7 separate regions of the Homo sapiens genome follow, and regions 1, 2, 4, 5, 6 and 7 are each linked to region 3. Evidence: promoter capture Hi-C in 16 types of primary human blood cells and fetal thymus (Javierre and others, 2016). All regions are on one chromosome and are shown on one strand. The core of a region is centred on a gene start or on the middle of the fragment in contact, and the rest is flanking DNA. Distances in the headings are between cores, read along the strand shown. Region 1 overlaps NEO1 (neogenin 1). Region 2 overlaps NEO1 (neogenin 1). Region 3 holds the start of ADPGK-AS1 (ADPGK antisense RNA 1). Region 4 overlaps NEO1 (neogenin 1). Region 5 overlaps NEO1 (neogenin 1). Region 6 overlaps HEXA (hexosaminidase subunit alpha). Region 7 overlaps CELF6 (CUGBP Elav-like family member 6).

The links. Contacts are between HindIII fragments. The CHiCAGO score rates a contact against its expected background, and 5 or more counts as called.
Region 1: a contact is called between a fragment that was not itself captured here and the fragment with the promoter of ADPGK-AS1 in region 3, in 7 of 17 cell types (megakaryocytes, erythroblasts, naive CD8 T cells and 4 more). The highest score is 13.0, in megakaryocytes.
Region 2: a contact is called between a fragment that was not itself captured here and the fragment with the promoter of ADPGK-AS1 in region 3, in 7 of 17 cell types (naive CD4 T cells, M2 macrophages, total CD8 T cells and 4 more). The highest score is 9.8, in naive CD4 T cells.
Region 4: a fragment that was not itself captured here is called in contact with the fragment with the promoter of ADPGK-AS1 in region 3 in 1 of 17 cell types (megakaryocytes); the score reaches 5.8 in megakaryocytes.
Region 5: a contact is called between a fragment that was not itself captured here and the fragment with the promoter of ADPGK-AS1 in region 3, in 1 of 17 cell types (megakaryocytes). The highest score is 5.6, in megakaryocytes.
Region 6: a fragment that was not itself captured here is called in contact with the fragment with the promoter of ADPGK-AS1 in region 3 in 1 of 17 cell types (fetal thymus); the score reaches 5.9 in fetal thymus.
Region 7: a fragment that was not itself captured here is called in contact with the fragment with the promoter of ADPGK-AS1 in region 3 in 1 of 17 cell types (fetal thymus); the score reaches 5.5 in fetal thymus.

Annotation. Positions count from the first base shown.
Region 1 is chr15:73,274,457-73,277,433 of GRCh38, forward strand. It overlaps NEO1 (neogenin 1), which reads left to right. Exons shown (of 29, transcript NM_002499.4): 21 at 236-268. Among named protein-coding and RNA genes, the nearest start is that of MIR12135, 24 kb to the right of the region's middle. The HindIII fragment of the contact is 2,230 bases long and covers 185-2,414 here.
Region 2 is chr15:73,093,044-73,095,743 of GRCh38, forward strand. The region is part of intron 1 of NEO1 (neogenin 1); the gene reads left to right. Among named protein-coding and RNA genes, the nearest start is that of NEO1, 42 kb to the left of the region's middle. The HindIII fragment of the contact is 3,259 bases long and covers 1-2,700 here.
Region 3 is chr15:72,781,395-72,784,203 of GRCh38, forward strand. It overlaps ADPGK-AS1 (ADPGK antisense RNA 1), which reads left to right and starts at 1,441. Exons shown (of 3, transcript NR_040107.1): 1 at 1,441-2,809. ADPGK (ADP dependent glucokinase) reads right to left here and starts at 2,364. Exons shown (of 7, transcript NM_001365225.1): 1 at 2,065-2,364. The coding sequence starts at 2,297. RefSeq lists enhancers at 1,740-1,809, 2,570-2,629, 2,680-2,809 and a silencer at 2,060-2,519. The HindIII fragment of the contact is 5,666 bases long and covers 1-2,809 here.
Region 4 is chr15:73,203,717-73,206,669 of GRCh38, forward strand. All of the region lies in intron 7 of NEO1 (neogenin 1), which reads left to right. Among named protein-coding and RNA genes, the nearest start is that of MIR12135, 95 kb to the right of the region's middle. The HindIII fragment of the contact is 433 bases long and covers 1,246-1,678 here.
Region 5 is chr15:73,113,274-73,116,095 of GRCh38, forward strand. All of the region lies in intron 1 of NEO1 (neogenin 1), which reads left to right. Among named protein-coding and RNA genes, the nearest start is that of NEO1, 62 kb to the left of the region's middle. The HindIII fragment of the contact is 471 bases long and covers 1,234-1,704 here.
Region 6 is chr15:72,370,138-72,372,903 of GRCh38, forward strand. The region is part of intron 1 of HEXA (hexosaminidase subunit alpha); the gene reads right to left. Among named protein-coding and RNA genes, the nearest start is that of HEXA, 4.5 kb to the right of the region's middle. The HindIII fragment of the contact is 4,935 bases long and covers 1-2,766 here.
Region 7 is chr15:72,283,262-72,286,275 of GRCh38, forward strand. CELF6 (CUGBP Elav-like family member 6) reads right to left here. Exons shown (of 13, transcript NM_052840.5): 13 at 1,466-3,014. Among named protein-coding and RNA genes, the nearest start is that of PARP6, 12 kb to the left of the region's middle. The HindIII fragment of the contact is 1,283 bases long and covers 735-2,017 here.

The DNA of each region.
Region 1 (2,977 bases), core at 50-2,549, 490 kb after region 3:
ATAAAGCACTGAACCAAGTAAGCCTAGCCTAATAAAATTTAACTGGGGACTGAATCTAAGGAATTATGGAAGCCCTGTATGAATTTAATTTCTGTTAGTACTAAAGTCAAGTTTCAGTTTGTTTGGAAGTTTGTGGGGGTTTTAGTTTTTTTCCTTTAAAAAGTTCTGCCTGTCCCATCTTCAAAGCTTGTGATCCTTGCTCTTGTTTTTTCTTCCCCTGTGCTTGGCCTGTTAGCGGACTCCTCTGATAAAATGCCTAATGATCAAGGTAAATGAGTAGATGGCCTCTCTTTTCTTTCCTTTCTTTTGTGACCTATTATTAGCTTTTGGTTTTTGTTTCTTTTTTTTTTTTTTTTCCTGAAAAATCAGCACCATGTGTTAAAAGCCACACAGTTATTGGCCAAAGTAGAGTTGAGTCCATGTTCTGAAAAGCTGGGGAATTTATGTAGAAGCTAACTAGGCTGGCAGAAGAAAACTGAACCAGTAAACTGGTCCTGCAGCTGTAGGAGATTCGTCTTAAGTGTGGATCAGATCATCCTTTGTGCTGAGATATTGAAGTTCTGTGACAACGATAAGCATTTAAGTCATGATTAGACCGATCATACCAATTGTTCATGTTTGCAGCAGTTGTTCATATTTGATCATACCAATTGTTTATATTTGTAGCATCTAGAATTTTATTAGTGTCTTTAAGTGGAAAGTTGTATCACATTCAGTGAATACCCTATTTTCCTCTTCCCACAAAGAATCCACAAATTTACCTTACTCAATGTTGTGATTCTGTGTGACTAAATTACTGCTTTGTTTATTCTGTTACCATAAACTTAATTCAGAGCTCTTTTTTCATTTCTCCCCTTAAATATATCTGATCATATTAAAAGAGGATCAAAACTATTTGAAATAAAAACTTAGGCCACGTACGGTGGCTCAGGCCTGTAATCCCAGCACTTTGGGAGGCCAAGGTGGGAGGATCACTTGAGCCCAAGAGTTCAAGACTAGCCTGGGCAACAAAGTGAGACCCCCTCTCTACAAAAAATAGGAAAAAAAAGTTAGCTGGGCATGGTGGTGCGCACCTATAATCCCAGCTACTCCGGAGGCTGAGGTGGGAGGATGGTTTGAGCCTGGGAGGTGGAGGCTGCAGTGAGTCGTGATCACACCACTGCACTCCTGCCTAGGTGACAGAGTGAGACCCTGTCTCAAAAAAAAAGTAAATAAATAATAATAATAGTGATAATTGAAATGGGGACCTAGCAAACAGGGGCCTCCATGTCACCATTCTTGAAACCATCTGTCAATAGTCTTTACACTGTAACTGCCATGGTGGAGGGATAGCTATATTTTGTGATTTTTATCTCTAGGAAGTCAGCTAATGCTAGTATGTTTTCCATACTGAGAATGAACATTAAAAGTAAATTTAATTATTGCTCTCTTGGTTTAAGAGTAGTTGTTAGAATTGCAAGTTATTTGGATCTTGGCTAATGGCAAGGAAGAGTCAGAACTTGAGGTATCAAGTTTTCCAGAACACTTTGGAAATGTGTTTGCATTCAGTGAGTCTTTTGCACTACATTGGAGAAACTGCAAACATACTTTCTGTTGTGTGAAAGTGCAGGAATATAAAAATACCCATAATATATATATGCACAGAATATAAATGGGCTCATTGTTTTCTCACTTGATTCCATAGCCAGAGTGCAATTCTTAGCTGCCTGACACCTCTGGTATTTAAAATTCTTTACTCATTGATATTTTTGGTGCTCAGTTCATCCTTGGAATTTCTTGTTCATAGTTTACATTCAAGAGAAACAATGTTGGGAAATACAGGAATATAAACCATCCAGTTTGTTAGCAATGTGTGTTCTTTGACAATTAGGTACATAATCCAATGCTCTGGATAGTTTGGCTTAAATGTAGCCTAGCTGTCAACTAAGTACACTTAAACCTGAAGAGCCTTGCAGGTGCTAAGCCATCTCCACCAGCTAGACTTTGTCATAGTGAAAAGCATATGAGGAACAACTGGACTCTTAATCTATGGTGTGTGTCACTTGGGAGAAATGATGGCATCAGAAGTAAGGAGATAAAGTAATATGTGTGGACAATGGAAAAAGGGCCAGGGACTGTGAGTAAATTCTAGAATATGCCCTTTTGGATATCCAGGAACTCCTGTTACCTTCTTTTGGTAGGTTTTCAGTTTCTGGAAGCATAGCATTGTTTTAGTCACTGGATTTATTCTGTTAGATGAACTGCATACACAAACTTCAGATTTTAATGTTTTCATTTCATTGAATATATGTATCTCCTGATAATTTATGGAAGTACTTGACATTAGCTCTAATGTTTTGCAGAAACACCTAGTTTATACATTTCTAGTAAGGCTTTATTTGTAGAAATAACTCTCATTTATAAGTGTTTTTTGAAGCTTCATGCTCTCTGCCTCTTTAAAGAGAAGATTATACTCTTTCGTGAAGATTTTTTATGCTTGTAATAGGAGTGGTTAACATTTATGGAACATCTACTATGTGTCAGTCAGTATTAAAAATATTTTATGGTATTAAATTTCCATTTAATCCTCACAACAGCTTTGTGAAGTGGATACCATTATTATCCCTGTGTTACAATGAGAAAACTGAGGCCCAAAAAGAATAAATAACTTGCCCAAAGTCAAACAGTTGTATATGATGGAGGTAATATGCAAGTGCAGTCTGTCTATTAAACAATGTGCTATATTAACCTCATAGTTAACTTCATAAAACAGCTTTTACTTTGCAATTCTTTCAGACCTCTTTTTCAGGAGAAGTATGATATTGCTTTCTGGGTATAAACCTTAGATTGACACCTTTGCTTTATTGGAAAAAGGTCCTCGTATTTGCTTTTCCCAAGCAGCTTTTCCTATAAATGTGAAGAGCAAAATTCAAGGCCAAGTATAAGAATTTTTTAAAAAACTGATATTTGCACTTTCTGAGGCCTCCTTCTGGGGTGG
Region 2 (2,700 bases), core at 68-2,567, 310 kb after region 3:
TGATGACCTTGATAGTTTTAAGGAGTACTGGTCAGGTATTTTATAGAATGTTTCTCTGTTAGGATTTGTCTGATGTTTTTCTCAGGATTAGACTGGGGCTTATGGTTTTGGAAGGATGACCACAGAGGTAAAGTGCCATCACACCATTTCAAGGCATTGATACATAATATCAACATGATGTATCACTATTAACATTGACCTTGATCACCTGGCTGAGATTGTGTTTGTCAAGTTCTCCCTGGTAAAGTCACCTACCTTTTTCCATACTGTACTCTTTTGAGAAGAAAGTCACCATGGGCAGCCTGCACTTCAGGAGTGGGGAATTATGTTCTCCCTCGTAGAGGGTGGTGTTTCTATGTGAATTATTTGGAATTCTTCTGCATGGGGTATTTGTCTTTTTTCTCCATTTAAAAATCTTTCAACTGTATATTATGAACTCATGGGTATTTATTTTGTACTTTGGATTATAATCCAGTAATCCTTTATTTTGTTGCTTAAATTGTTTCAGCTTTGACCATGGGAAGTTCCTTTTTTTTTTTTTCTTTTTGGATACAAGGTCGTGCTCTGTCACCCAGGCTGGAGTGCAGTGACATGCTTACAGCTCACTGCAACCTCTGCCTCCCAGGCTCAGGTGATCCTCCCACCTCAACCTCCCAAGTAGCTGGGACCACAGGCGTGCACTACCAACCACGCCTGGCTAATTTTTTGTATTTTTTGTAGAGACAGGGTTTCGCCATGCTTCCCTGGCTGGTCTCGAACTCCTAAGCTCAAGCAATCCACCTGCCTTGGCCTCCCAGAGTGCTGGGATTATAGGCACGAGCCACTGTGCCTGGCCGGAAGCTCCTTAATTTGGCCCCGGTGTCTCATTGACATACCTCCATCATTGTGCTTTTTGTTTTGTTTTGTTTTTAGCACTTCCTTACCTTTGGGCACTACAACATGCTCCAGACTCATCATTTGTATTTCTTGCCTAATTTTAGAATTAACCATTCCTTCAAGGAGCCCTGGTTCCTTCTATAACTATTTTTTTTAATTGCGATATAACTCACATACTATATAATCCACCTATTTAAAATGTGCAACTCAGTAGCTTTTGATATATTCACAGATGTGCAGCCATTGCCGCAATCAATTTTAGAACATTTTCATCACCCCAAAAGAAATCTTATACCCCATAAGCAGTCTACTGTCCATTTCTCATGTTCCCCGGTCCTAGATAACACTCTTTTGATTTACCTATTCGGGATATTTCATGTAAATGAAGTCATATAATATGTGATCTTTTGTGCCTGGCAGCTTTTACTTAGCATGATGTTTTCAAGGTTCGTCCATGTTGTAGCTTGTATTAGTATTTCATTCCTTTTTATGGCCAAATAATAACTTCATTGTCTGGATATAATACATGTTATATAATCATTAGTTGAAGGACATTGGTTTATTTGCGTGTTTATACCTTTTGGCTATTATGAATAATGCTGCAATGTATATTCTATACAATAGCCTTTCTAAAGATTTTGTTGTTGTTTGAATTGGAATTAGTATCTACACAATTGATTGGTATACGTTTTAAGTTTCTTTTAAGTGATAATTATCCCCTCTTCACCTCCCTGTTTTCTTCTTTGTCATTTGTCCAGAAGAATTTCCACATGGTTGGGATATTGCTGGTTGCTTCCCCATGGTGTTTCTTACCATCTTCCTCTGTCTTTTTTATTTTTATTTTTGTTTCTTAATTGTTAGTTGGATCTAGAGATTTGATCATTTCAGGGTTTTGTTGGACTGCCACATAGGTGATGGTAATTTATTCTTTCATCAAGAGGTGTGTAATGTCTGTTTGGGTCTGTTTCTCTGTTGCTATTAGCTACCAGGGTTTAGAAAACCATAGCTAGGCTGGGCACGGTGGCTCACACCTATAAGCCCAGCACTTTGGGAGGCTGAGGCGGGCGGATCACGAGGTCAAGAGATTGAGACCATCCTGGCCAACATGGTGAAACCCCGTCTCTACTGAAAATACAGAAATTAGCCGGGCATGGTGGTGTGCACCTGAAGTTTCAGCTACTCAGGAGGCTAAGGCAGGAGAATTGCTTGAACCCAGGAGGCAGAGGTTGTAGTGAGCTGAGATTGTGCCACTGCACTCCAGCCTGGCGACAGAGTGAGACTCTGTCTTAAAAAAAAAAAAAAAACTTAACAGCTAATGGTCAGTTGTCTCTGGCTTGTTTTTTAAATAACCTATAAGCTAATGTTGATTTTTACATTTTGAAAGTGTTTTTAAAAAAGAATTAAAAAAATAAGCAAAGGAGAATTTGCGACAGCAACTGTGTGTAGCCTGAAAAGCCTAACATATTTTCTGTCTGGCCCTCTACAGAAAATATTTGCTGACTTCTGTACCGTTTACTTTTTATTGCCTAGAGCTGTTGATTCATTAGGAGTTGCAAAATAGTGATAATCTATCATTTTTTCATTTATTTGGTAGAGTACTTCTATAAACAGAAACTTTCACCAACAATTTTATTGCCACCAGGAACAGTTTGATGGGGAAAGATGTTTAATTTTTTTCCTCTTCCTTTTGAAAAGTTTTCAAGATGATTTGGTTCTATAGCATTCACGAAAGATGACCAATTAGTCTTTATTTGTTTTTTTTTTTTTGAGATTAAAGTAATGGAATTCAACAGATTTGACCATTTCAGTTGTTTTATTATCATT
Region 3 (2,809 bases), core at 191-2,690:
CCGACCTGTTCCCAAACAAACCATGTACTTTTTCACATTTGGTTCTCTTGCCTAGGTGGACCTGTTCCCACTTTGGCTTGAAGAAATCTCATTTATTTAGTGTCTGTCCTATGAAAGTCACTGTAGTAAAATATATTTTCCAAGATGGTGGCAATAAGATGCCCCATTCCAAATGTTCTTTTCACAATGTGACACTGATGCTCCTCCCATCAAGGTTTGTTCTATGTCCCCTCCCTTAAAACCAGGTGGACCTGTGACTCTGGTAGAAGAGTTCCTATGTGCTTCTAAGGTAAGGTCGTAAAAGGCATTAAGGCTTCTGCCTGGTCCTCGTGGGTTGTTCCTCTTCTAACCATAATTGTTATGGATTGAATTGTCCACCCCCCACCAATTCATATGCTGAAACCCTAATTCCCAATGTGACTATATTTGGACGTAGGGCCTTTAAGGAAGTAGTTAAGGTTAAATAAGGTCATACGGGTGAGCCCTATTCCAAAAGGACCTAGTGTCCACATAAGAAGAATAAGAGGCACCAGGAGTGTACATGCGCAGACTAACTGAAAAGCCAGCTGGCTGCAAGCTAGGAAGAGAGGCCACATCGGAAGCCAATCCTGCCAACACCTTGATCTTGGACTATCAGCCTCCAGATCCACGAGAAAACAGATTTGTTGTTTAATCCACCTAATTTGTGGTATTCTGTTCTAGCAGCCCAAATGACTGATACAATAATATGTTTCCAACAAGTGAGACAGGGGCCTTGCTTCACCCATCTCTGTATCTTAAGAACCTAGCACAGACCTGACACTAACCATGTAGTTGGTGAATATCTGCTGAATGAACGCGCATAAAGCAAGGAAGGACAATTTAATCCCAGCACTTTGGGAGGCCAAGATGGGAGGCTGGCTTGAGCTCAGGAGTTCGAGACCAGCCTGGGCAATATAGCAAGACCTCGACTCTACTAAAAAAAATAAAATAAATAAAAAATTGGCTGGGCGTGGTGGTGCTTGCCTGTCGTCCCAGCTACTCCAGAGGCTGAGGCAGAAGGATCTCTTGAGCTCGGGAGTTCGAGGCTGCAGTGAGCAGTGATTGCACCACTGCACTCCAGCCTAGGCGACAGAGAGAGAGACCCTGTGTCCAAAAAAAAAAAAAAAAAAAAACCCCAAAATTATAGCTAATATCGAATGCTTTTTAAAGCAGGCACTATGCTAGAGAGATTACATGAATGATGTCATTTAATCTTCAGGCCAAGTTTGCTCTACTTTACCCCTCCCGGCCCCAACACTCCACAGAAAGTAGTGAGCTACATGGTAGAGGGCCTGCTTTTATGTGGTGGTTATACATAACTCTGAGATTACGGCAAGAAAGTCAAATCGAACTGAGACAGGGACTAAAGTTAGTGTTTACAGTATCAATACTATAAAGAAAATAATTACATTCCCAAGGAAAAGTACAAAGAAAGGAGGTAGTGTCATTTGGAAGAACCTTAAATATGCAGTGTCACTGAAGTCAGGGGAAGAAAAGAATTTCACGGAGAAGGGCGTGTTCAATGCGTGGAAGGCTGCAGAGTAGATAATGAAGATTCAAAAAGGCAAATCTGAGAGGAGTTGCAGTACAGTCGTGTGGTTTCTAGACTACACGGCGTTTCGAAAGTGGGTAAAGGCAGACATCACGCGTCTTCAAGAAGTTCAGAAGAAAGAGGAAGAGTGTTGTCATAGTGGGTAAGGTCAAGTATCTTTGATTGCAAAACAACAGTCGCCAGAAGAGAAGGGGCTAAAAGTTGGAACGAGGAAGAAGGCTCGGAGAAAGGTGTCAGACAAAGCGGGATTAGCAAGAAGCTGTTAGGGCTGGTCCTACCGGGATGAGAGAAAGGCGCAGAGGCCAGCCGAGTGGAAAGAGCAGCGGTGACGAACCGGGTTCCACTCAGACGTCCGACACTTCTCGCCAAGGGGCCAGCGCGGACAGCAGCGCCTCCCGGGGACCTCTGAGAAGCCCTGTTTCTGCGCGGCTCCGCCCGACCTCCAAGGCCGACCTCGGAGGCTCAGAGACCCAGGCCCCGTTGGCACTCACCCCACTGCCACGCGGCGCCAGCGCCGGACTGGCCGCACGATAAGCGCGTCCCAGGCTGCCGCCAACCGGCCCTCGGGGGAGACGGGTCCCGGGGGCGCAGGCGCGGGCCCCAGACACAGCGAGCTCCAGAGAGAGCGCAGCGCCGAGCCTGGCAGCTCTGGCTCCAGCAGGAAGACGCAGCCCACGGCCAGCGCCAGGAAGCCCGCGTACGCGGAGCCGCGCCACAGCGCCATGGGGACCCAGGCGCCGCACCTGCGCGAACCAACTCCTTTCCTAGCCCGCGCCTCTTCCGGGCTCGGCGCGCGCCGATGTCGACACAAGCGCTACGTCACAAGGGTGCGCCACGGGGCCCCCCAAGGGGCGGGGCGACGGGCGGCGCCAGGACGGAGCGAGGGGGGACCCCACGCCTCAGTCCCAGGCCTGGCACTGCGGTGTTGCCGCCCCGGAGGAGGTGGGACAACGGCGGTTGTGCCAGTCCGGGCGCTGCACCCCCTTCCCGGAACTCTAATCGTATCCCCAAATAGAGGGATGGGAACACATTTGCTTTCGCAGTAAAACGAAACGGACAGATTGTGAAGAAGCGGACAAACCTCGCGTTAATATTCGAACCAGTGGGTGTCCCCATTGGCACGGATCACACCCCCATCTTTTAATCCCTCCCTCCGCCCGTGTCCCCTCATTTGCTAGACTTGTCCTCTTCCAGGCCTAGTGCTCGGCGCTTCTGAGAGGAATAGGCTCACAGAAT
Region 4 (2,953 bases), core at 212-2,711, 420 kb after region 3:
TGTACTATAGGTATTTTATAAGAGTATTCCCAATTCTTCCCTCCCATCCCTTGTAATAGTGCTGTCATTTATTTCACTTACCCATATGCTGTAGCTACCCAGTATATTGTTACTACTATTGCTTTAAACAAATCATTACCTTTTAGGTCAACTAAGAATAAGAAAAATAAAAGATTTTATTTTACCTTTGCTTTTTCCTTCTCCAGCACTCTTTCTTTCTTTGTAAATCCAAGTTTCTGACCTATATCATTTTCCTTCTGCTTGAAGAACTTCTTTTAACATTTCTTGCAGGGCAAATTATCTGCTGATTGATTCTCCTTATTTTTGTTTGTCTGAGAAAGTTTTTATTTCTCATTAACCTTTGAAGTGCAATTTTGCTGGATATAGAATGTAAGGTTGGTGGGTTTTTTTTTCAGCACTTTGAATATTTCACTACACTTAACATGGCTTTTGACATGCTCTCCACTGTAATTCTTATCATTATTCCTCTGGAGGTAGGGTGGTTTTTTTTATTCTGCCGTCTTTCAAGATTTTCGCTTTGTCTTTGGTTTTCTGCAGTTTGGGTATGATGTGCTTAGGTGTAGATTTTTAAAATATTTATTGTGCTTGGTATCCTCTCAGCTTCTTGGATCTGTGGTTAGGTGTTTGTCATTAATTTTGGAAAATTCTCGCTTTATTCTCTCTTCTCTGATATTCCAATTAGATGTACATTCCACTTTTTGATAATGCCCCATGATTTTGGATATTCTGTTTTTTTCATTCTTTTTTCTCTTTGCATTTTAGTGTAGGAAGTTTCTACTGGCTGTCCTCAATTGACCCATTCTTTCCACACCCACGTTGAATCTACTGATGAGCCCATCAAAGGCATGCTTCATTTTTTCTTTGTAGAATTCCTTTTGATTCTTTTTTTACAGTTCTGTCTCTGTGCTTACTAGTCTCTTCTTGCATGTTCCCTACTTATTTTCATTACAGCCCTTAGCATTCTAGTCATAGTTATTTGAAATACCCTGGTGATAATTCCAACATCTTTGTCTTTTTCTGATGGTTGTTTTGTTTCTTCAGACTGGGGTTTTTCTTGTTTGGGGCATGAAAATATTATAATTTCTTGTTGAAAGCTTGGTGTCTTGTATGCAGTAATAAGAACTGAGATAAATAGGCCTTTAGTGTGAGGATTTATGTTAATCCAGCTAGAAGTTGGGTTGTGTGTTTAATGTTTGTTGTAGCTATAGGTTATCAGAGACTTGAAGCTTCTTTAGCGTACTTGATTTTTTGTCTCTACTCTTGACTTCGGAACTTCCCTAAGTATTACTCCTCAGAGGGAGCCTTTTTCTTGCAGTTCTTTCAGCTAATAGTTGTTTCCGCTATTATTCTTGAGCACTGTTTGTATAATGTTAAGATGTGAGGGAGAAGGACATGCTATGATCTTTGATTAAGTCTCAGGTTTTCAGGGGGCTTGTCTTATGGTTGTGACCTTCACAAGTGTTTCTCCAGTAGTACAGCTTTCTTCCCCCTGTTCCCTATTCCCTTTCCCATCTGTAGTGTTCCCAATCTATTTCCTGAAGCCCCTGTCCTCTCTTGACTATGGGTTGTCGTATTCTCTTCTAACCCCCACTTAGGTCAAACAGGAAAGCTGAAGAAAATTGGAGGAACAAGGAATTTCTTTCCTCTAGCTGGGATAAGCTTTCACAATTAATTCTCTGGAACAGGTTCTGGGCATGTTTCATGATGGTTACTCTTCCTCTCCCCCTGCCAGAGACAGGAGGGAATCTTTTGGAATCCTCGTGATGACAACCTGGTAAAATTCCTGGAGGGAATGTCCACAGAAATGTAGTCACCCCTAAGACTGTGGCCCCCAGGATTTTTTCATTCTCACAATAGTCCACACTCAACCTCTAGCAATTTGTAAGATTACCTTTTAAGTGTTCCTACCAGTTTATGTCTCCCATGGCTTCTGCTTCATGTAAGCAAATCTTGGTTGCTGTATGTCTCTGAATGCACCTGTCTCTACAGTTTGGGGTGGGGATTTGCCCTGCAATCTCATTTCTCTAGTGAGTCCAGGAAAGTCATTCATTTTCAATTTTCCAGCTTTTTCTTGTAAGAATGAAAATGATGACTTTCAAGCTATTTACATGCCACCATTGAAACTGGACATCTCTCCTGGCTATATTTTTAATTTTCAACATCTGTAATTTTTTTTTTGTTTTTTTTTGAGTCAGAGCCTTACTCTGTAGCCCAAGCTGGAGTGCAGTGGTGCGATCTCGGCTCACTGCAACCCCTGCCTCCCAGGCTCAAGTGATTCTCATGCCTCAGCCTCTTGAGTAGCTGGGCTACAGGCATGTGCCACTACGTCCAGCTAATTTTTTGTATTTTAGTAGAGATGAGGTTTCACCATGTTGCCCAGGGTGGTCTTGAACTCCTGAGCTCAAGCAATCTGCCCACCCCAGCCTCCCAAAGTGCTGGGATTACAGGCATGAGCCACCACACCTGGCCTGTAAACTTTTTTTTATAACAGCTTATTCTTGTTTTATGGTATTCTAATATTGATATCTCTTGAAGTTTTCTCCTGTTTCCTTATTTGCTGTTTCCTTTATTATTTCTCTTGTTGAATTTTATGCCTCTCTTTCATTGTGTTAATTGTTAATTCTAGATTGTTTAGCTTTCTATACATATTTGCCTTTGATTATCCCTATATTAGGTTGTTGATAGGTTGTTGACCTATCACAAGTTTATTCATAAAAGTTTGTCATAAGCACTCTTTTTGGGGAAGGAGGTTTAAGGTTTTGTCCCAAGAAAAAAAGCTAGGGTAGCGTGTGGCTCAATAGGAGCAGAAGCAGCAGTATTTCTGGCTCAGACTATCCAAAAATAGTTTGTTTTTGTTGTTGTTGTTGTTTTGTTTTGTTTTTTTAATTACTCATGTATTTTCTCATGTCCTTTACTCTATGGAATATCTCTG
Region 5 (2,822 bases), core at 219-2,718, 330 kb after region 3:
CTAAGTGGCCATTATTAGAATGGAACCTGCAGTCTCTTATTAATACTTTAACCATTGGAAGTTTTTAGAAGTTATCTGGTTATGTAATCTAAAGATTAGTGCCATCCACCATGCTAGGTGGGTACTGGGAATATAGCAAATGAAAACTGTACAAAGATAGATCATAAGCCTGCATTTCCCAAACTATACCCTGAGATACCCAAAGGAACCTCAGAGAACTCCCAGGGTCATTTCAAACTTCTAGGGAAACATGGCCACATCTGTTGGACATTATGCGAACTTCTAGCTCAAGGTAGTTCACAGTTTCAACAGCTGATTGTGCCATCTTCATTTTGTACCTGTGATATCTTTGTGAAGTTGAGCTTTTAGTGGTTACTGTTTTAAAAAGCAAGTACTATGCAAAAATCAGTGTGGAACAGGAAATGTGGGTGGCAGTATTTAGTTGCACAGCATCTAAGTTTTAGAAGTTGTGCAGGGCCCTGTAGGTGAAAACATCCCATAGTAACTAATTGTGGTTATTTTAAAATGAAATATATATATATATTTTTCAGTTTGCATGTATTATTTTTTCAAAAAGGTGTTAATTTGTTGGGACATAGATACTCATTTTGTTTGAACCTAACTGTTAAAAGAAATAGGATGGTTAGCTATCTCTTTTGACCTATGGAATTCTTGAAAGAAATTATAGAGAAAATAAGGGTACCAGGAGCCAAGCAAGTTTGGGAACCTCTCTACTTTAACTTAAAGTTATTACAAATATTCAAAGATTAAGAACATTTGGAGTGCTCTGTAGGTAGCGCATACACCATGCTTGCTTAGAACAGGCAAAACTAACATTGCCTGGGCACCTGGGACAGACAGCATTTCTGAGCAAATGATATTTAAGCTGAGCTTGAAGGAAGACTGAGAACTGACTGAAAAGGAGTGGTGGTGGGAATAGCTTGTGTGAAGAGGCGGGAGCGGTGGGGAACTGACTGGGAGAGCAATGCAGGGGAGCTGGAAATAGGCAGAAGCTAGATCAGGTGGTGACTGACGTGGCAGTCGACTAAAGGAGTTTCTTCAGGTTTCTTTGTAAAAGGCAACGGCAAGCCTTTGAGGGGTTTTAAGTGAAGAGAGGATATCTTAGGTCACTGCCCTCCTACTGAGAGAACAAAATACAAAACGATATACAGAAATATTTAAGTAACTTTTTGTAAAAATTTTGAAGTGCCTTGATTTTGAAAGGCATTTGTAAGCTTTCCTTTGAGTGTAATTCACTCTTACTTTTTCAAACACATATACTTTTTTTCGTTGTTCAACCTGGCTCAATTTTAAAAATGAAATAAAAAGCAAGACAGTGTTAAACTGCGAAACATTTAAATTGTAATTTTGGGGGTATTTTTTCAAATGGCAAAAATTGTGTTGTAATTTTGAAATAGAATGTATTTTATTATCAGTAATACAATATTTCAGATTTTTAATTTGTGTATTTTAACCACCAATCTAACACATTTATCTTTTAAGTTTCTGAGTTAAGTTTGGGGGGTATAATAGAGATTTAATAGTTACATAGTAAAGATATAAAGGTAATTTCTCTTAGTTTAGCTATCTTTTTATACTTTTTATTTATGTGTTTATTCTACTATGATTCCAGTAAACTAATGCAACATAAACATTTTGATAGTAATAAGAAACTAATTGCAGGTTACTTTTTAAAAATTTCTAAGCTTATTTTCAGGAATTTTAAGACTTGAAAAATAAATTTCATGGTCATTAAATGGGCATAGAGACCTGAAACACTTTTTTTTTTTGAGACGGAGTCTGGCTCTTGCCAGGCTATAGTGCAATGGTGTAATCTCGGCTCACTGCAACCTCCACCTCCCAGGTTCAAGTGATTTTCCCGCCTCAGCCTCCCAACTAGCTGGGACTACAGGCATGTGCCACCATGCCTGGCTAATTTTTGTATTTTTAGTAGAGATGGGGTTTCACCATGTTGGCCAGGCTGGTCTCGAACTGCTGACCTCATGATCCACCCACCTTGGCCTCCCAAAGTGCTGGGATTACAGGCGTGAGCCACCGTGCCCAGCCACCTCTTTTCTAATACCTGCTTGTGGTGTTTGGGAAAGTGTAATTAGTCTGATTAGAATTAGAATTTGTTTATCATTGAAGTATTGGAAAACTTTTAAAACAATTGAATGTTATTTCTTTTCCTCTGCCAGTGTGTTTTATATTTCTTTAGAGGTGTTTGTTCATTATATAATATAGAATTTATGTCATCCTTAAATTCATAATGCAAATAAATTATAAAGAAGTGTGTAGATATATTCGAAAAACAGTCTTAGTTTCATTTGCTGGATTGGGTTTCTCTGATTTTTCACATGAAGAAAGCTGATGACAACTTGAGTTGTTTACAAGGGAATTGGTCAGAAGTTTTCTTGAAGAAAAGTGATAAAGCTTTAAGTTGGAAAGCTTTCCAACAGGCTGAGAGTATAAGGTTTATAACAAATATTTTTCTTTAAATTTTGTTCTTCCCATGTTCAAAGAACTGACAGGGACTTAGAGAAAGTAAGCTAATTCCTTCCGTGCTCTTTACACTAAAATGAATTCTAGATGAAGATTAAATGTAGAAAATCACAAGAGTAATAGAACAAAGCAAGGCTGAAATTTTTTATGATCTTGGGATAAAAAAGACCTAAGTATAACTATGTTTAGTTTTATGTAGCTTAAAATTTATTCTTATAACAAATATTATAAAGTCAAATGGAAAAAAGAATATTTGTAAAATATGATAGCAGATTGCTTTTTAAGTCAGTCGGATGAATAAATTCTCTAGAAAATGGACA
Region 6 (2,766 bases), core at 218-2,717, 410 kb before region 3:
GAAATTAGGCAATTAGTCTGAAGGCACAGAGTTAAGGGGTTAATAAACACTTTCTCAGCTGACTCCTGAATGAATCATGTTCCACATCCTGAGTCCTCCAATGTATACTGTGTTCAAACAGAATATCCAAAGCAGGGGAACACCTACAGCTCACAGAAATAAAACTCAAATTTTTCATAAACCAGGCCCAGGCTACCCACATACACCTTGATCAAGTTTAGCTTCTTGGACTCAGTACTATACAGGGATACTAGAAAAGTATCATGCTTTAGGTAATAAATGGTGGCTCACACCTGTAATCTCAGCACTCGGGGAGGCCGAGACAAGAGGATCGCTTGAAGCCAGGGGTTCAAGACCAGCCTGGGCAACACAGTAAGACCCCCATCTCTACAAAATGCAAAAAATAAAAAAATTAGCTGGGTGCGGTGGCATGCGTCTGTAGTCCTAGCTACTCATCAGTGAGGCGGGAAGACTGCTTGAGTCCTGGAGTTCGAGGTTGCTGTAAGCCGTGATCACACCACTGCACTCCAGTCTGAATGACAGAGAAAGACCTGTTTCTTAAAAAAAAAAAGAAAGAAAAGAAAAGAAAAAAACAGGGCTGTGAGAAGAGAGGCTGGTGGAAGACTGCAGGCCAAGCTAATCTAGGCCCTGGGATTCAAAATGAAATATGACACTTATTTTGCCCTTCAACTAAAAACTGTGCTTCTGCCATCACCTTCTTTCTAAAGACAATTTATTCATCACTGTATTTCTCCTATGTATCCCTCGTTCTCCAGAAACCCCTTCATGAGAAAAAGTAATTCTACTACAAAACCTTCTTCCCGTGTTGTTTTCTTCCTCTTTGCTTTTAAAACAATAAACTTAGTGGCAATCATCTTTGGCAGGAATATGCCTTGTCTTTGCCGTGGGAAAGGTTAAAGTATAGTTAGCCGCTAGCCCAATTAAAGTGGAGAGAACTAATCGGCCTTATTCTTTCTCCCCAGCCCAGCTGCTTGACCTTATCTGTTTCCCTCCTAGATGCAATCCCAATGCATCTCTCACTGCATGCTGAGTTAAGAGCAGCACGAGTTGGGATCACACAATAAGCAGCATAGTGTGATTATCCTTTGCCTGGAATCACACACTTACACTCCAAATTGGTAACCTGAAAGGAAAGGTAATCCTCAATGAAAACCTGCAAATCATATCTTTTTGATGATCTTCTCAGACCTGTAATCCCAACACTTTGGGTGGCTGAAGCAGGCAGAGTGGTTGAGCCCAGGGGTTCGAGACCAGCTGGGGCAACATGGTGGTACTCCATCTCTACAAAAATTAGCTATGCACCTGTAGTCCCAGCTACTCAAGAGGCTGAGATGGGAGGACAGCTTGAGCCTCGGAGGTCGAGGCTGCAGTGGGCTGTGTTTGTGCCACTGCACTCCAGACTGGGTGACAAAATAAGACCCTGTCTCTAAAAGAAAAAAAAAAAAAAAAAAAAAAGAAAACAAAACCCAAACCCATAAAGCCTTCTTACAAATGTTTACACAAAGTAGCTCTTTAACGTTAATATATTTTACAAATAATTACTACATATCTACAACGTTCCAGATACAGAAGAAATGGCCAAAGAAGGTATTTTAGGAGATCCAGATTATAATGAACTATGCCATTTATTAATTTAGTCACTTCTTTAATATCTGAGGATGAGCAAATCAAATACTGATAATGGCTGCAGAAGGACACAGGCTCTTATATAATAATCTTACTTCCATTCCAGAATAAAAGGGCTGGAGAAGGGGGGCAGGATTATTCTGTTGAAGGACAATGGCATCCTCAGCAACTCACAGGGATGTGCAGGTGAACATCAGACCAGGATGGGAACCTTATAATATCTATGATATACTATGGCTTCTATCAACCAGTTTCAGGAAAAGCAAAGAAGAATGCAGTCATGGCCAGGTGCAGTGGCTCACACCTGTAATCTTGAGGTGGGCAGATCACATGAGGCCAGGAGTTCGAGACCAGTCTGGCCAACGTGGTGAAACCCCATCGCTACTAAACCCCGTCTCTACTAAAAAATAAAAAATTAGCCAGGCATGGTGGTGGGTGCCTGAATTCCCAGCTACTTGGGAGGCTGAGGCAGGATAATCACTTGAACCCAGGAGGTGGAGGTTGCAGTGAGTCAAAATCACACCACTGCATTCCAGCCTGGGCAACAGAGCAAGACTCCATCTCAAAAAAAAAAAAAAAATGCAGTCTAATGGCAGAATTAGACTTAGCCACTTTACTTGGAAAAATTTGGACTTTATCAGCTCCATCAAGCACCATGCTCCACACCATGCTTATTAAATGTCTGGAGCAACATTAGATGGGTGCCATTCCAAATTCCAAATAATCACATCTTTGCTTTGCAAACAGGATGTGGCTTAATAATCAAACAGGGAACTAGATTCATTCAAGTATCTAGTTCCTAAAATAAGTCTATTTAACAGGTTCAACAACATGCAACACACACCCTCCAATTGGTAGAAACACCTCTCAATGACAAAGAAAGGTGGCAAATACTAAACACCTTCACAGACCATTTAGCAACTGGTGGGACTAACCCTTGAAGGTGAATTCAAAATAGAACTGAACCTCAATACCAGACTTCTTTTTCAGAAAAGGGAGTATGAATTCTTAGTTTCAGGTTCAGACAAAAACCAGAAGTTGTATTGCATTAGGAAAAACACTGGGCTGGTCAGGTGGCTCATTCCACCCTGTAATCCCAGGACTTTGGTAGGCCAAAGC
Region 7 (3,014 bases), core at 126-2,625, 500 kb before region 3:
GGCAGGCACATTTTTGAAATTGTATGTTTGTCAAGAAAAGTATAGGTGGATGCAATAAAGGGTGGGATATAGTGGGTGCATTTCATTTATCTGCCCATCATCTCTTCCTTAGGGACCCATTTCTCCCCTTCCACACAGTCCTGATGAAGTTGTCAATTATGGTGGCCTACTCTTCTATCCTAGTGGTGGGCATGTGTCCAAAGCTGGCCAAAGTCCTCCCTGGGATTTTAGAACTAGAACTAATGAGGCCAACATATGGAAGGAAGCAGAGCCAAGAGATGGAGACATCATCCTTTGAACCCCTAGATCCAGCCATGCTTCAAGGCAGATACATGCTTTGATTTATCAGTTATGTAAATCAATTAATTTCCAATTGGCCTAAACATGTTTGAGTTGGGTTTTTGACACTTGCAACTGAAAAGGTCCAGACTAATACATGCACACAGAGAGACACAAACACCATATTGTTCAAGCTCATCAGACATTATATAAGTCTTCCATGATCTTACCAGGGGTCAGCAAACTTTTTGTCTAAAGGACAAGATAGATAGATATTTTAGGCTGTGTGGGCCATATGTGGTCTCCGTTTCACTTTCTTGTTTTGTTTTGACGACCCTTCAAAAATGTAAAAAAAATTATTAGTTTGGTAGTTCATACAAAAATAGGCCACAGGCCAGATTTGGCCCACAAGCCATAGTTTGCCAACCCCTGATCTAGACCATGTCAAACCCTGAAGCTTTGGAATCACACAGTCTGCCAGTCCTTAGCCCATACTCTAAAGTATGAAGCCAGATATTTTAAATGTCATTTTGGTTCAAGTGTCTTGACATGACTTGGTAATGGTAAGGTTCAGGGTAGAGTTAGGAACGGGAAAAGGGTCTTATCTTGTGCCCATTATCTGCCATATAACAGGTACTGAATAAATGGTAATTATTATTATTTCTTGGTAATAAAGATAATTTTTCAAAATGATGCAGCTGTCTAAATGGCTTTGTCCAAATGTCCCAGTTCATCCTTGAAGACTTTTCCCCTTCTTAATCTCCTTCAGAAAGTATTTCACAGACCTCCCCCACCAATAAAGTCTGAACTAGGTACTCTCATTCTTGCTAGCACAGACCTTCTATGGCCCTCCATTGTAACTGGATTATTTGTCTCTCTTTCCCCTTAACTCTGAGTACTTTGAACATACCTGAGCCCCGACACGTAGCACAGTGCTTAGCACCTAGCCTGAGGGGACTCTCTGCTTCCATGTGAATATTAGTTTGAGGGTGCGGGTACTGTGTGTCTCTATTTGTGTCTAGGGTGGTCACTCTAGGTGTCAGCATTGTGCTGGTGCACATACACCCTCTGGTTCTTCCCTCGGTTGGAAAATATTTGTGGATGTCCATCACACCTTACCTGGTAATATTACTGCCAGATCTATGTTTCATTCCCATTCCCTCCAAAAATGAGTCGAAGACAGAAGAACAGGTGGGAACAAGTTTTCTTAGAAACTGTTATGAAGGAGGAGCCCTCCACCCCCACCCCCACATCTTTTACTATCTGACATGTTATCAGATCAGAGGCCTTCAGCCTCAGCAACATCTGGGGATTAGAGGGACCCCACACAGCTGGGGCCTCAGACCAAGCTGATCCATGCCTGTGGGGTGGAGGGGAAATCCTCCTGGGAAAAATATGTGCAAGGCCCTACAGGCCCAGGAAAGGCTGACCAAGGCAAGGTGAGTCATGGTGTTCTAAGCTGAATCTTTTGCCCATCTCACAGAAGCAGGCAGGAAGCACCACCATTGATCAGCTTTATATGGCACCCACTGTATACAACAGACAGACAAAGACAGACAGACAGAGCACACACCACTTCTAAGCTCAACACTGCTCACCAACTAGAAGCACCTCGGTTAAGCACATGTGAGACACTCTTGCATAGGAAAGATGTAGTTTTTAAAGGAATGAAGAAGTATTTTGGCAAAACATCTACTTCCCTCCCAGGTCTGGGGTAAAGAGGGACCTCTAATTCTGAAGCTTCTACATATTGAAAAATTTCCCCTTCTCAATGGCAGTATATACAGTAGCAAACCTTCCAAGTCTGTTGTCACAGCCCTCTACAGATATCCTGAATCTACTTTACAGGTGGGCAAACTTAGACTAAGAGACAGAAGGTAGCCTGGAGCAAGGGGACACTGGGACTGGTTCAAGGGGAAGGGAAACAGGAGGTGTCTCAGCTCAGCCAAAGGCAGGGCCTCTGTCTACCTGGATTGGCAAGGGAAAGGCTCAGGTGGCCAGAACTCCCTCTTTCTTCCCGCCTGGGGAAGCAGTGGTTCCACAGGAAAGGCAATCCCACTCTTGCTGGCTAGGGGGCCTCCCGGGATGGCAAAGGCCAGGGCCAACCTGAGCTCTGCCTGGGGCCTCTTCTGGGATGCACTCTGAGTTTGGGGATTGTGGATTGTGGGTTCACTGCTTCCATAACGTTCTCATTACCTGCATGTGAGCCTAGACCTCAAATCCTTAATTATTTTTAAAAGGGCAGGGTGGGGGAGTGGCTTAAGAGGGAATGAGACACAGAACAATCTTTCCACAGCCCCCATCTGCCTAGGCTGGGGCTGTCAAGGGTCTCCTTCACCCTGTCTCCTAGGGATATTTAAAGGCAGCTTTTATGAGACTCTATACTGTCTTTTTTTGTAGTTGTTTGTCTTGTTTTTTGTTTGTTTGTTTCTTTGTTTTAATTTATATAGATATATATATTCTTAAAAAAGCAATAGTCCTTTGGTCCCTAAACTCTAAGGAATGATATGATTTTGAAAGAAGTAAATCTGGGCTTCCCTTGCGGAGAAGCCCTTGGCACCCCCAACGCCCTCTGCTGGTTCCCCTGGACAGTCACTCCTCACCAGCCCTATTTGCTCTGCCAGCCTGCGCTCTATGCTGCAGGCACAGAACAACCCACTTGATAAAAACAATCCTTAGAGTGGCCTTAGCCCCAGGCACCAGCCTTGGGTCCGATCCACCTCCGTCCGCAGCTG